Regions from separate parts of the Homo sapiens genome. Here regions 1 and 3 are each linked to region 2. The links are contacts of gene promoters, found by promoter capture Hi-C in blood cells and fetal thymus (Javierre and others, 2016). All regions are on one chromosome and are shown on one strand. The core of a region is centred on a gene start or on the middle of the fragment in contact, and the rest is flanking DNA. Distances in the headings are between cores, read along the strand shown. Region 1 overlaps OPHN1 (oligophrenin 1). Region 2 holds the start of OPHN1 (oligophrenin 1). Region 3 overlaps OPHN1 (oligophrenin 1).

What was found. Contacts are between HindIII fragments. The CHiCAGO score rates a contact against its expected background, and 5 or more counts as called.
Region 1: a fragment that was not itself captured here is called in contact with the fragment with the promoter of OPHN1 in region 2 in 4 of 17 cell types (M1 macrophages, M0 macrophages, M2 macrophages and 1 more); the score reaches 8.4 in M1 macrophages.
Region 3: a fragment that was not itself captured here is called in contact with the fragment with the promoter of OPHN1 in region 2 in 1 of 17 cell types (M1 macrophages); the score reaches 5.8 in M1 macrophages.

The regions. Positions count from the first base shown.
Region 1 is chrX:68,190,586-68,194,333 of GRCh38, reverse strand. It overlaps OPHN1 (oligophrenin 1), which reads left to right. Exons shown (of 25, transcript NM_002547.3): 14 at 382-444; 15 at 1,341-1,415. Among named protein-coding and RNA genes, the nearest start is that of OPHN1, 240 kb to the left of the region's middle. The HindIII fragment of the contact is 1,903 bases long and covers 554-2,456 here.
Region 2 is chrX:68,430,823-68,434,924 of GRCh38, reverse strand. It overlaps OPHN1 (oligophrenin 1), which reads left to right and starts at 1,430. Exons shown (of 25, transcript NM_002547.3): 1 at 1,430-1,757; 2 at 1,901-2,058. The coding sequence starts at 1,905. The HindIII fragment of the contact is 12,772 bases long and covers 1-4,102 here.
Region 3 is chrX:68,278,539-68,282,447 of GRCh38, reverse strand. All of the region lies in intron 4 of OPHN1 (oligophrenin 1), which reads left to right. Among named protein-coding and RNA genes, the nearest start is that of OPHN1, 150 kb to the left of the region's middle. The HindIII fragment of the contact is 1,569 bases long and covers 1,317-2,885 here.

The sequences.
Region 1 (3,748 bases), core at 256-2,755, 240 kb after region 2:
TCAGCCATATATTTTTTAAATGTGTCTGGTAATTGAACTAAGGTAGACACTTGGTGTTAGCTTACATCGTGGGTAGAGAAACATATCCTTCCTGTTCTGGAAGCATGATAGAAATTGTATTTTTAGGCTAACATTTCACATATGACTTTGCTCATGCTGAAAGCAGACAATTCAAAGGGCTAAATATAAGTATTTTGTGTTATAAGAGTTAAAATGTTAAACCTCCCCTGAAAAAATGACTCTTTCCATTTAAGGGTGACTAGAAATGAGCAACTAAAAACCCTTAGCTCTCTCAATGCAGTCCCTTTGCATGGTCATTAAATGTTTAATAGGTGACACCTGTTGCAGCAGGATCTAACTCTTTTCCTTTGCTTGAAACAGTGGAGCTAAATGAAGTGGGCTTCAAGTTTGTCAGGAAGTGCATCAATATTATTGAGACCAAAGGTAAGATCTGAACCATAGTCTTGGCATTGTCTGAATCTCGTCACTCTGATTTTATCCTGGGCAATTTCTCTGAAGTAGCGTTTTAGGAATGAAGACTGTTTATAAAGCTTGTGTAGTAGATGCAAGCTAGAAAATTTCAGAAAATTCTAAACTAGTGGTATGCAAGCATATTTGGATAATTTGGATTCCTGCTTTTAAAGAGCTTATAAGTTTATAAAGTATTCTCAAACAGTACCTGGCACTCCTTAAGCAGTGTCATGATGGTTCTATCCTAAATGATCAAGAGTTCAATTTCTGCCACAGTACATACTGGTATGAAAATTGATGGGGCAGAGCCAAACTCAGGGAGATGTGGAATCAGCATTCTTCCTGGTTGCCGATACTCCCTGGTTTCCTTCTGAGGATATTTAGACTGTGGGCAAGTGTGGTATGTGAATCAAGTCTCTTTGTTCTTTGAAATGTTTTTTTAGTCTTTCTTGGTGCAGGAAATGGCCTTTTGTTTCACAGCTGCCTTACTCCAGCCCTCTCGTGATTTATATCACTGCTTAGAAGCAACTTGAGGGTTGATCCTTCCTCCTTTTTCAATTGAATGAACTTCTTTCTAAGATGGCAGCACCATTCTCAGCTTTCTGCTGCCGCCCAAACTAAGCATATGCTTCTATTTACTATAGAGTTTGTTTTCTTCTCTTCAGATTAATGAGGGTTTGGTACACTCCAAATGAAAGGATGGATAATTTGGAGAGATGCTGTAGGACTATTCCCCTGTTACAGGGAAGGCTGGAGAACTTGGAGTATGTAGTGTGACCCCTTCCTATCTGAATTGACCCTAGTGTACCAAGGGGAGATGACAACTCTAGCTATACAAGTGAAATTAACCTGATTTTTTCCTCCACTAGGGATCAAGACAGAAGGGTTGTACCGCACTGTGGGCAGCAATATTCAGGTTCAGAAGCTGCTGAATGCCTTTTTTGGTAACAATTTTACTTTGATAATTCTTATTGGGAGTACTTTATGTGTTACAAAGAAATGTGACTGGAAGAGAAAGGAGACACTGCTAAAATGTGGTAGAATAGTTGAAAAAAGTATTTTCTAAAGTAAAACATACACATACTTGCCCACCCTGGGCAGAGTCAATCGTACCTTGAAAATGGCTGTTATCTCTCCTTCCTCGTATCCCATTCACTCCAGAAACCCTCAGCAATACAACTTCTTTCCCTACATCTCAACTGGAACTGTGTGGCCAGGCTTAGTCGGTATCTTCTTACCAAATCCAGTGAATACTTTTGAGTTTGTGTCTTACTTGATCTCCTTGTTGACCACTTTCTCTTTTTTGAAACTTTCTCCTTACATGACTTCGTGACTTCCATAACACATCAGCACTCTTCTGATTCTTCTCACATCTTTTTTTTTTTTTTTTGAGACAGGGTCTAGCTCTGTCGCCTAGGCTGGAGTGCAGTGGCATGATCATGGCTCACTGCATCCTCAACCTGAGCCTCCTGGGTAGCTGGGACTATAGGCGTGTGCCACTACACCAGGCTGATTTTTAATTTTTTTGTAGTGATGGGGTCTCACTATATTGCCTAGGCTGGTCTTGAACTTCTGGCCTTCAATCATCCTCTTGCCTTTGCCTCCCAAAGTGCTGGGATTACAGGCATGAGCCACAATGCCTGACCTCTTCTAACATCTTATAGGATTCCTTTTCAATAACTTGCTGAACCTTTATCTTTCTGTTTTTTACACCTTGACTGTGTGTTTCCTACAGTTCTATCTTTGTTCTTGGTTTACTTCTTTTTTTTTAATATGTTTTTCTATTGATTGATTTTTTTTTATTCTGGTTATGGCTCACATTTTTGTTTCTTAAAAAACATTTCTTGTAATCTTTATTGGTTGCTGGATGTTGTGACTTACTGAATGTCTTGATTTTGTTGATTTCTTTTAAAGAGGACTGAATTTTGTTTTGTGGGCAGTTATTTGTGGATCAATTTGATTTATTTGAGTCTTCTTTTTAAGCTTTGTTGGGCCAGATATAAAGTATCCACCCCCAGGTAAGGTTGTTGAGCTCTTTTTCCACATAGCTCACTCTTCTCTGGTACTGTGCCTTGCTAGTTATAGCTGCTTCAACCTTCCTAAACTTTGATCCTTATCTCTTCAGCTGAGCAAGACTTCCATGCTCAGCTTGAGTTCCCACTCCATCTGCTGCAATCTAAAAAGTGCTTTTAAGAAGCAAGCTGTGGAGAAGGTAGCAGTTATCTTGTTTGTATCCCTCTTCTCAGAGTCATAGTCCTGTTTTGTCTGTTGCTCAATAACTACATGCAGGAGTTTCCTATATACTGTCCAGTTTTCTAGTTGTTACAGCAGGAAGGCAAGTCTGATACCAGTTAGTCCACCATGGCTGGCAGTGGTATTCTCTCTTTATGCTTTTTACTAGCACCTCTATGCTGACAACTCACAAAATCTCTGTTCCAGACATCATCTGATGAGTTCTAAATGCAAATATTCACTTGCCCACTGCACTTGTGCTTCTCAGTCATATTAAGGTCATGGCACATATCAGAATGATCATCTTTATATAGCATGCTCGGGTAAATGGACATCACTGAGGCAAGAAGCCCTAAAGGCTGAGGGAGTCAATATTGGAGTCTCTGCACAAGCTCTCTTTACATAGATGGTTCACAGGTATCTACCTGCATTTCTCTCCCTGCAAACCTACCCTTCTTCCTTTCGTGGGTGGCAGTGAAGCATCTTGTAAGCTGAGTTTTCACAGTGTCAGAGAACAAATTGAGTGTGGAAAACTGCAGTTTGGATAAAATACATATTTTTTGGTCCTTACTGTGATGCATAGCTAATCTCTCACAAGCCTGCAGGTCTGACAACCAACCCTACTCACATTTGAGGATGTTACAGCACTCAGTCATAGCAGGTGTGGTTTTTGAATTCCAGATTACATCATTAGTACCTCATCATCTGTTTTCATTAATCACCTTACATTCTTGACTTTTAAAAATTTGGATTGCTTATTCCTGGTCAATTTGCAACCCATCTCATTAGCTAAGGACACTTTTTCATATGTAAATCAGCTGACATCGTGGTCCAGCATATTGAATCTCTGAAAAATTATTGAACTCAGATATTTATTCAGATAACTATTGAACTATTGAAAATTCTGTTTCCAGTATCACTCTTATATCTGTTGTATAATAAGCTAAAAAATGCCATGCCAGGCATCCCACTGATTCTCTTATGGGCTTTAATAGGACTGAAGTGGCTCCTTCAAATCACACACGGCAGTAGAATTTGATTCAAG
Region 2 (4,102 bases), core at 181-2,680:
GAATCACAGTGATGTAGCATGAGAAAGACTTGACTGGCCAGTGCTAGCTTTAAAGACGGAGGAAGGGAGCTATGAGCCAAAGGATGTGAGCAGCTTGAGCCGGAAAAGGTAAGGAACCAGATTCTACCCCTAGACTATCTGAAAATGAACACAACCCTTCTAACATCTTGATTTGATCCCAGTGAGGCCCATTTCTGATTTCTGCCTTCTGGAACTGTAGATTATAACTTTATGCTGATTTAGGACATCAAGTTTGTGGTAATTTGTCACAGCAGCAACAGGACCCTAATTCAGGTGGGTCAGCCACTATTATTCTATTTACAACCCCCTTCCGTTCTGGCTTTCTTCACAGGGCAATCTAATGTAAACACTTCTGCAGAATTAAAGGGATCTCTTTGCCCACGCACAAACTATTTTTTAGTTTTTCGAGCCTCTACCTACCCTTAGTCTCAAGACAGCTGCCTTTAAGGTAAGCTGCAAGACAATTTATAACATCCTATTCTTAGACTTTCCACTTACACATGGAAAATCATATGCATTATCGGCGTCTGCCACAAAAGCCATGCTCTGAGGTCCTATTCAGGAAAATATTAACTCTGAATTATGGCCTCCCTTTCTTTGGCAGGGGGCACTGAGCTTCACGGAGACCCTAGAGTAGGAATCAACCCTTCAGGTCGAAGGCCCAAGGGAATTAGAGCACTTAGAGCAGGAGACATGGGAAAAGAAAGAGGAAAAGAAGTTGGTAGGTCCGAAGGAGGCTGGAAAGAGGGGAAGGCAAAAGAATACACAACCCAGCCGAATCATGGGAATTGAGAGATGGCTTCCTGCAATCTAGTCTTGCGGGTTCTTGCTCTAGTTTCGGAAACTTCCCCCGCAGAGTCCAGCGCCGCGCACCTGCCCCTTGGGGCCGGTCCCTGCGCAGGAGCCTGCGGCAGGCTGGGAATGCCGTTCTGGGAGAGCAGCCTCCCAGGCGGGGTGGTGGGGAGACTGCAGGGAGGAGTCTTGGGGAGTGCAAACGGAAAGACTACATCTCCCAGGCCGCCACGCTTTCCAGCTGGAGTCCTAGGGCGCTGACTGCTCCCCAGTTTCCGTAGGGAAGCGCTGGGCTACCGCGGCTATTGTGCGTCGCGCTCTCGCCCTCCTCTTCCCGCTGCAGTGTCTATGGAGCGAGGCTACGTTTCATTGCCGCCCTGGCTTAACCCTTCCGGCGCCTAAAAGGACGGCCGGCCGGCCGGCTCCCTTGCACCAGGAAGAAGTCTTAGCAGCCAGCGGGCCCTGGTCAGGAAACTCTAAGGTACAAGGAAAACAGTTGAGGAAGGAGCCAGAGCGCTCCGGTTTGGTCCTCGGGCTTCGCTGGGGCGGGGCGCAGGCGTTGGCTTTAAGAAAGGGGAGGGGACAGTGCAATCCGGGTTGCCCGCGGAGTTCGGCCAAGGAAGTCTTCCGCTCGCTCCGGAGCGAGGAGCCTGTAGAGAGGCTGTTCCCAGCTCCAGCTCTAACCTCGCCTACACCTTGGGCGGGCCCAAGTGTCACGTTTGCAATTGCTCAGGAAGGATCCGGCCCGTCTCCGGAGGCAAGTCGGGCTGCGGTTTTTGCTGCTTATCTGGGAAGGCGATGCCTAAGGGACATGCTGCTTGCTAGGCAGCACCCTGCCGGGATCCGACTGCGATAGTTAGCTCTCCCTGGCCCTGAAGCCATCGCCGGGGCGCCTGTTCTCTGTCCGGACCAGCCAGCGCTCCTCAGGAGTCTCACTGAAACAGGTACCTGTCCTCCAAAGGGACGGAGGCTATGAGCTTCCTTAAGCGGGTCGCGCGCTCAGTCCGTCCCCTCTACTTCCTCTACTGTGCCATTGATGCTCTCGGTCTTTGTGTCTTTCCCCTTTCCCCCTACTCCCGGCCATCAGAACCATGGGTCATCCCCCGCTGGAGTTCAGCGACTGCTACCTGGACAGCCCCGATTTCCGCGAGAGGCTCAAGTGTTATGAGCAGGAACTGGAGAGGACCAACAAATTCATCAAAGACGTAATCAAAGACGGCAACGCGCTTATCAGCGCTATGAGAAGTAAGTGCAAGGCTTCGATGAGCTGTTTCTCTGAGCTGGTGTGTCTGGCCTTTAAGCCTTTCCACACCACCAGGGGAAGGGAGATTGCAGGGTGACTCCCAGCCCAGATCTCTGAGGCAAATGGGTTTCCCACACTTGGGGAGTGGAGATAGTAGAAGTGGAAAGTGGTGGATACAACCAGAACTTTGGGCCTTTTCCTTTAGTGGTTTTGACCTTATAAGACGTGATCCGTAGCTGTGCCAGGGACCCTCTTGCTCAGCAATTACCCTTACTTGGCAGATGATTGTTCTTAAGGGACAATCTGCTGTACTGTTAGACATATTCAGCACCCCTGTCTGGGGCAAAGTGACATCCAAGCTGACCAAGGAACTGCCCCAGCACCTCCTAAACAATTGGGGATTAAGGTCAGCAGCTTGAATAATAATTTTGTCCTGGTCTCTGGTTGCTACAGATAAGTGTGGGGGGCAGTAAAAAATTCGCCATGGCAAGTTATTTTTTAAGGAAAGCACCTTTGCCCCAGTGAATTATTTTCTTTATCACACTGAGCTATGGTTTAGGTCAAGGTCAGTCTAAGTTCAGGATTATTGGATGGCTTCACCTGCCACTGAATTCTGCTTGAGTGTGGAACAAAGAGCTGACTACTTAGTCCCTGCCACAAGGGGCCCAGCCCCCAGGGAGTAAAATAGGGATAGGGTTGGGGGCTGCTGGGCTGAAGGAACTTCACCTAGCTTCGCTTTTCCAGTGCTCACAGCTGACTCAGCTGTGGGAAGCTCTCTCCTTCCCCCATTGTGTGTGGAGGTTTTTTTTCTGCTTGTTGGTAGGAGGCTTGGAGTAAAAGAAAGAATAATAAACATCCCCAACGAGAGTGCAGGCAAGCCAACCCTTTATGCCAAAGCATATACACAGAAGAATGGAGGGTAATGATTGGGTGGAGTGATAATTAATTTTTTCTCTTGGCTGAAAGATGATTGTGAAAAATAAACTCAGAGTCATTGGCAAGTATGTCCTATATGGTTATAACTTTGTTTTGAGTGAATTTATCACCAAATACAGGGTCTAGGACCAGTGTGGCAACCTTCTTAGGCGGATGCAGTCAACCAAGAGCAGGGAGAAAGAAAGATTTGAAAGTGGTAGTGCGAGGCTGGGCGAGGTGGCTCACGCCTGTAATCCCAGCACTTTGGGAGGCCAAGGCGGGTGAATCACCTGAGATCAGGAGTTCGAGACCAGCCTGGCTAACATGGTGAAACCCTGTCTCTACTAAAAATACAAAAAAAAAAAAAAAATTAGCTGGGCATGGTGGCAGGCACCTGTAATTCCAGCTACTCAGGAGGCTGAGGCAGGAGAATCACTTGAACCCAGGAGATGTTGGTTGCAGTGAGCCGAGACCGTGCCATTGCACTACAGCCTGGGCAACAAGAGTGAAACTCCATCTCAAAAAAAGAAAAGAAAGTGGTAGTGTGTTGGTAACTGCTGCCAGCTGGTATTTCTTGTGCAGCCCTTCTGATTTGCCCTGTGGAGTCGGTGCTTTTCCTTCACATGCTCTCTGCCCACTTTTGGTCAGAATATGTACACTGTCGAAGTTCCTGCAGGTCATTTGATTGTGTTTGATCTTTTAATGATTTGTCTTATTGTGGCCTGACCAAGAGTAAACTCCTAGTAGTATCTGAAATGCTGATCCTTAAGAGGTTAAGGATATGCAGGTTGTGCTACATAAGTAGAAAGGTGAGAGTTCACGGAAAGGAAAAGGAGGAATGTTTCAGCTTTGTTTTGTTTTGTTTATATATTACAGTAAACTGCTTGGTGCTGTGTCCCCAGTAAAACGAATCTCATCATAAGCCCTAGGAACAGAATGGCTTTGTGAAGTGGATGGTAACTAAAAGCATGCTAAAAATCACCAGCTAAGGCATATCAGAGAGATTAAGATTTATAAGAAAAAAAGTAGTTCAATAAAACATGGTGGAAGAGCAAAAGTTTCATAAGCTAGGGGCAAGTAAAGGTTTTTATTCTTTCCTTTTCTTTCTTTTTTTTTCAATTTTTGTTTTTG
Region 3 (3,909 bases), core at 852-3,351, 150 kb after region 2:
AGATTCATGGCCGTGAACATTTCTTTTGTCCAATCTATTCATCCTTCTCTTCCTTCTCCAGTCCTGAAACCCTGACAACCACTGATCTTTCTTTTTATTGTGTTTTGCCTTTTCCAGAATGTTTATAGTAGATATCAAACAGTATGTAGCCATTTCAGATTGGCGTATTTGACTTAGCAATATGCATTTTATTTTCCTGTCATTTATTTTTATCATTAAGTAATATCCCATTGTATGATTTACCACAGTTTGTCCACTCACCTACTGAGGGACATCTTGGTTATTTTGGCAATTATAAGGAAAACTATTATAAACAGTTGTATGTAGGTTTTTGTGTTGATACAAATTTCCAACTGATTTGGTTAAATAATAAGGAGTGTAATTGCTGGAGTGTAAATTGTCAGGGTATGTTTAATTTTGTAAGAAATTGCCAACCAACTTCCAAAATAGCTGTGCCATTTCGCATAACCAGCAATGAATCAGAGATCCTGTTGCTCCATGTCCTCGCCAGCTCCATGTTCTTACCAGCATTTGCTGTTGTCAGTGTTCTGGATTTTAGCCATTCTCACGGATGTGTAGTGGTATCTCATTACTGTTGTAATTTGCAACTCCCTAATCACATATCATGCAGAGCATCTTTCCATATGCTTAACTGCCATCGGTATATCCTTTCTGGTGAGGTATTTGTTCAGTTCTTTTGCCTATTATTAAATTGATTTTCTTTTGTTAAGTTTTAAGAGTTCTTTGTATATTTTAGATTCCAGACCTTTATCCAATAGGCATTTGCAAAGATTTTCTCCTCGTCTGTGGCTTGTCTTTTTATTTTCTTAATAGTCTCTTTTGCATTGCATAGGTTTTTAATTTTAATGAAGTCCAACTTACACATTTTTGCTTTAATGGATCATACTTTTGGTGTTATATCTAAAAAGTCTTTTCCAAATCCAAGGTCACCCAGATTTTCTCCTATGTTATATTTTTGGAATTTTTTAGCTTTTTGTTTTACATTTAGGTCAATGATTCATTTTGAATTAATTTTTATGAAGGATATAAGGTCTGTGTCTAGATTCACTGTTTTGCATGTGGATATCCAGTTGCTCCAACACTGTTTTTTGAAAATACTATTCTTTCTCCTTGAATTACCTTTTGTCCTTTATCAAAGATCACTTGACTATATTTATATGGGTCTGTATCTGGGCTCTCTATTTCTGTTGCATTGATCTATTTATCTATTCTTTCACAAATACCACACTATCTTCATTACTTTAGCATGGTAGTAATTGCACTGTAGTAAAAAGCATTGAAGTCAGGTATAAGCTTAAGAATCAGTTTGTTCATATCCACAAAATAACTTGCTGGGATTTTGACTGGGATTGCTTTTAAGATCCTAGAGATATCTTTTTGATTTTGATTAGGATTTGCTTTTAAGCTACCAGGGAAAAACTGATATCTTAAAAATATTGACTTTTCCTAATTATAAACGTGGGTTATCTCTCCATTTATTTATATCTTTTTTGATTTTTTTCATCAGAGTTTTGTAGTTTCCTTATATAGATATTTTATGTATTTTGCTAGATTTCTACTTAAGTGTTTCATTTTTATGAAGTCTAATTATTTTAACAGCCTAAAAATAATCTTTTTGTGTGGTCCTTAGACCGGCAGTACCATCATGACCAGCACCAGCAGAAAATTATTGGAAATACTGGTCCTTGTACCCATCCCAGACTTATTGGGGACTTAAATGTTGAAATGTATGCGTTGATCAATATTCATTTTTATTAGGGGCATGATGGTAAGATGGGAATTCTGTTTTACTTTTCTCCATCAGATGACTTTTTGTGGGCTTCTCAGTTTTGTTAAAGCTATTTATTCCAACAGCCAGAACTAATTTACCTATAAAATCCCTTTCTTTTCAACAGTGTGGTACTGACTTCTCAAAATACTGCTCATAGAATCTAGACTCCTAGAGAAGTAGGAATGAAGGCAGGACTTGGAGGTAGGGGAATTAGAGAATTAAGGCTCTAATTCTGGATCTGTCACTAACTTGTTGACTTCAGATTAATTACTTCATTTTTCTGGGCTCCTTTTTCTTATTTGTAGAGTGAGGAAAATAATCCCCATCTCTTATGGTTGTTTAAAGTGCTCCAAATAACATAGTAAACATGGACGTGTTTTATAAGGGGAAAATACTGATTATGTAAGCATGGTTTTTAGTTATCTTTAGTTACTCACAGGATTCTGCTTGTGGAAATATGATTTGGGAATTTTCTTAGTTTAAAATATTTGCTTTTAAATGTACTAAGAAGAGACCAATATGTGTGGTTTCCCTGGACCCTCTTAGATGGCCCCCTTGCTAATACACAGTCTACTAAATGTTCTTCTCTGCCCACAGGGTTTGTGGACTGCTGCCTATGTTGTTTTCAAAGGCATTTGCCCCCATTTCATTCAGATAGCACTAGAAAGCTCAGCTGTACTTCTCTTTAGCCCTAGTTGTTTCTCCATCTCTTTTATTTACCCAATAACAAAGCCCTCACATATTGAAGTAGTATTCATCTTTTGAGATGTTGTTTTTCTCACCCTTCCTGCTGATACTTTGCCACATGACTGACTCATTTTCTTCTGTCTTTAATTATGTTGTGCCCTTTTGTCCCAACAACTTTTCAATCGTATATTGAGTGTTTGCTCCCTATTTCCCACTTAATTCCAGGAATGCTGAGATGGTTAGGCTTAATGAGTGCCTTTCACCCCATGCCAGGAATTCATTGCTTGATTATAACTTTTCCATTTCCTGGCTTTGTAGCAAAAGGACCCCTCTACCCCAGTCTGGATAATTTAGTGGGTCTTATATTGCATTTTATCCTTTGTAAAAGAAGAGTCCAAAGTAAGCTTTAGAATAACAGTAAGAAAGTTCACAGCACTCAAGCATGGAAATTGCCTGTGTCTGGTCATCTCCATAAATGAATATAAATTGGGGAAGGAATTATGATGGGGAGAAGTGAGGAAGGGCATCCCTGTGATGTTCTCAAAAGTATACTGTTGGGGCTGGGTGCGGTGGCTCACGCTTTTAATCCTAGCTCTTTGGGAGGCTGAGGCAGGCAGATCGCTTGAGGCCAGGAGTTCAAGAGCAGCCTGGTCAACATGGTGAAATCCCGTCTCTACTAAAAATACAAAAATTAGCTGGGCGTTATCGTGCATCTCTAGTCCCAGCTACTCGGGAGGCTGAGGTGGGAGGATCACCTGAACCTGAGGAGGTCAAGGCTGCAGTGAGCCATGATCATGCCACTGTACTACAGCCTGGGCGAGTAAGGCCCTGCCAAAAAAAAAAAAAAAAAAAAAAAAAAAAAAAAAAGAGCGGGGGAGGGCCTTGAAAAGTCTGAATTGCACACTTCTTATATGATTATGAAGCTTGCCTAGATTCCTTTCTGACTCTGAAGGGGCCTCTGTTGGCAATGTGCAAGGTCTGTTTTTGAAGACGGCCAAAAGTGACCTAAAGAGGCCCCCATAATATTTCAGCCTGTCTTTAGTGCTCTTTTTTTAAAAAAAAATTTTTTTTATTTTATTTTTTGTGACGGAGTCTCCCTCTGTTGCCCAGGCTGGAGTGCAGTGGCGTGATTTCGGCTCACTGCAGCCTCCGCCTCCTGGGTTCAAGTGATTCTCCTGCCTCAGCCTCCTGAGTAGCTGGGACTACAGGCACCCACCACCATGCCCAGCTAATTTTTGTATTTTTAGTAGAGATGGGGTTTTGCCATGTTGGCCAGGCTAGCCTGGAACTCCTGGCCTCAGCTGATCCACCCGCCTTGGCCTCCCAAAGTGCTGGGATTACAGGCGCAAGCCACTGCGCCTGGCCCAGTGCTCTCTTTTGATATTTCATTTACCATCAAAGATTCCTGAGCAGTCCTGCAATACTGGACT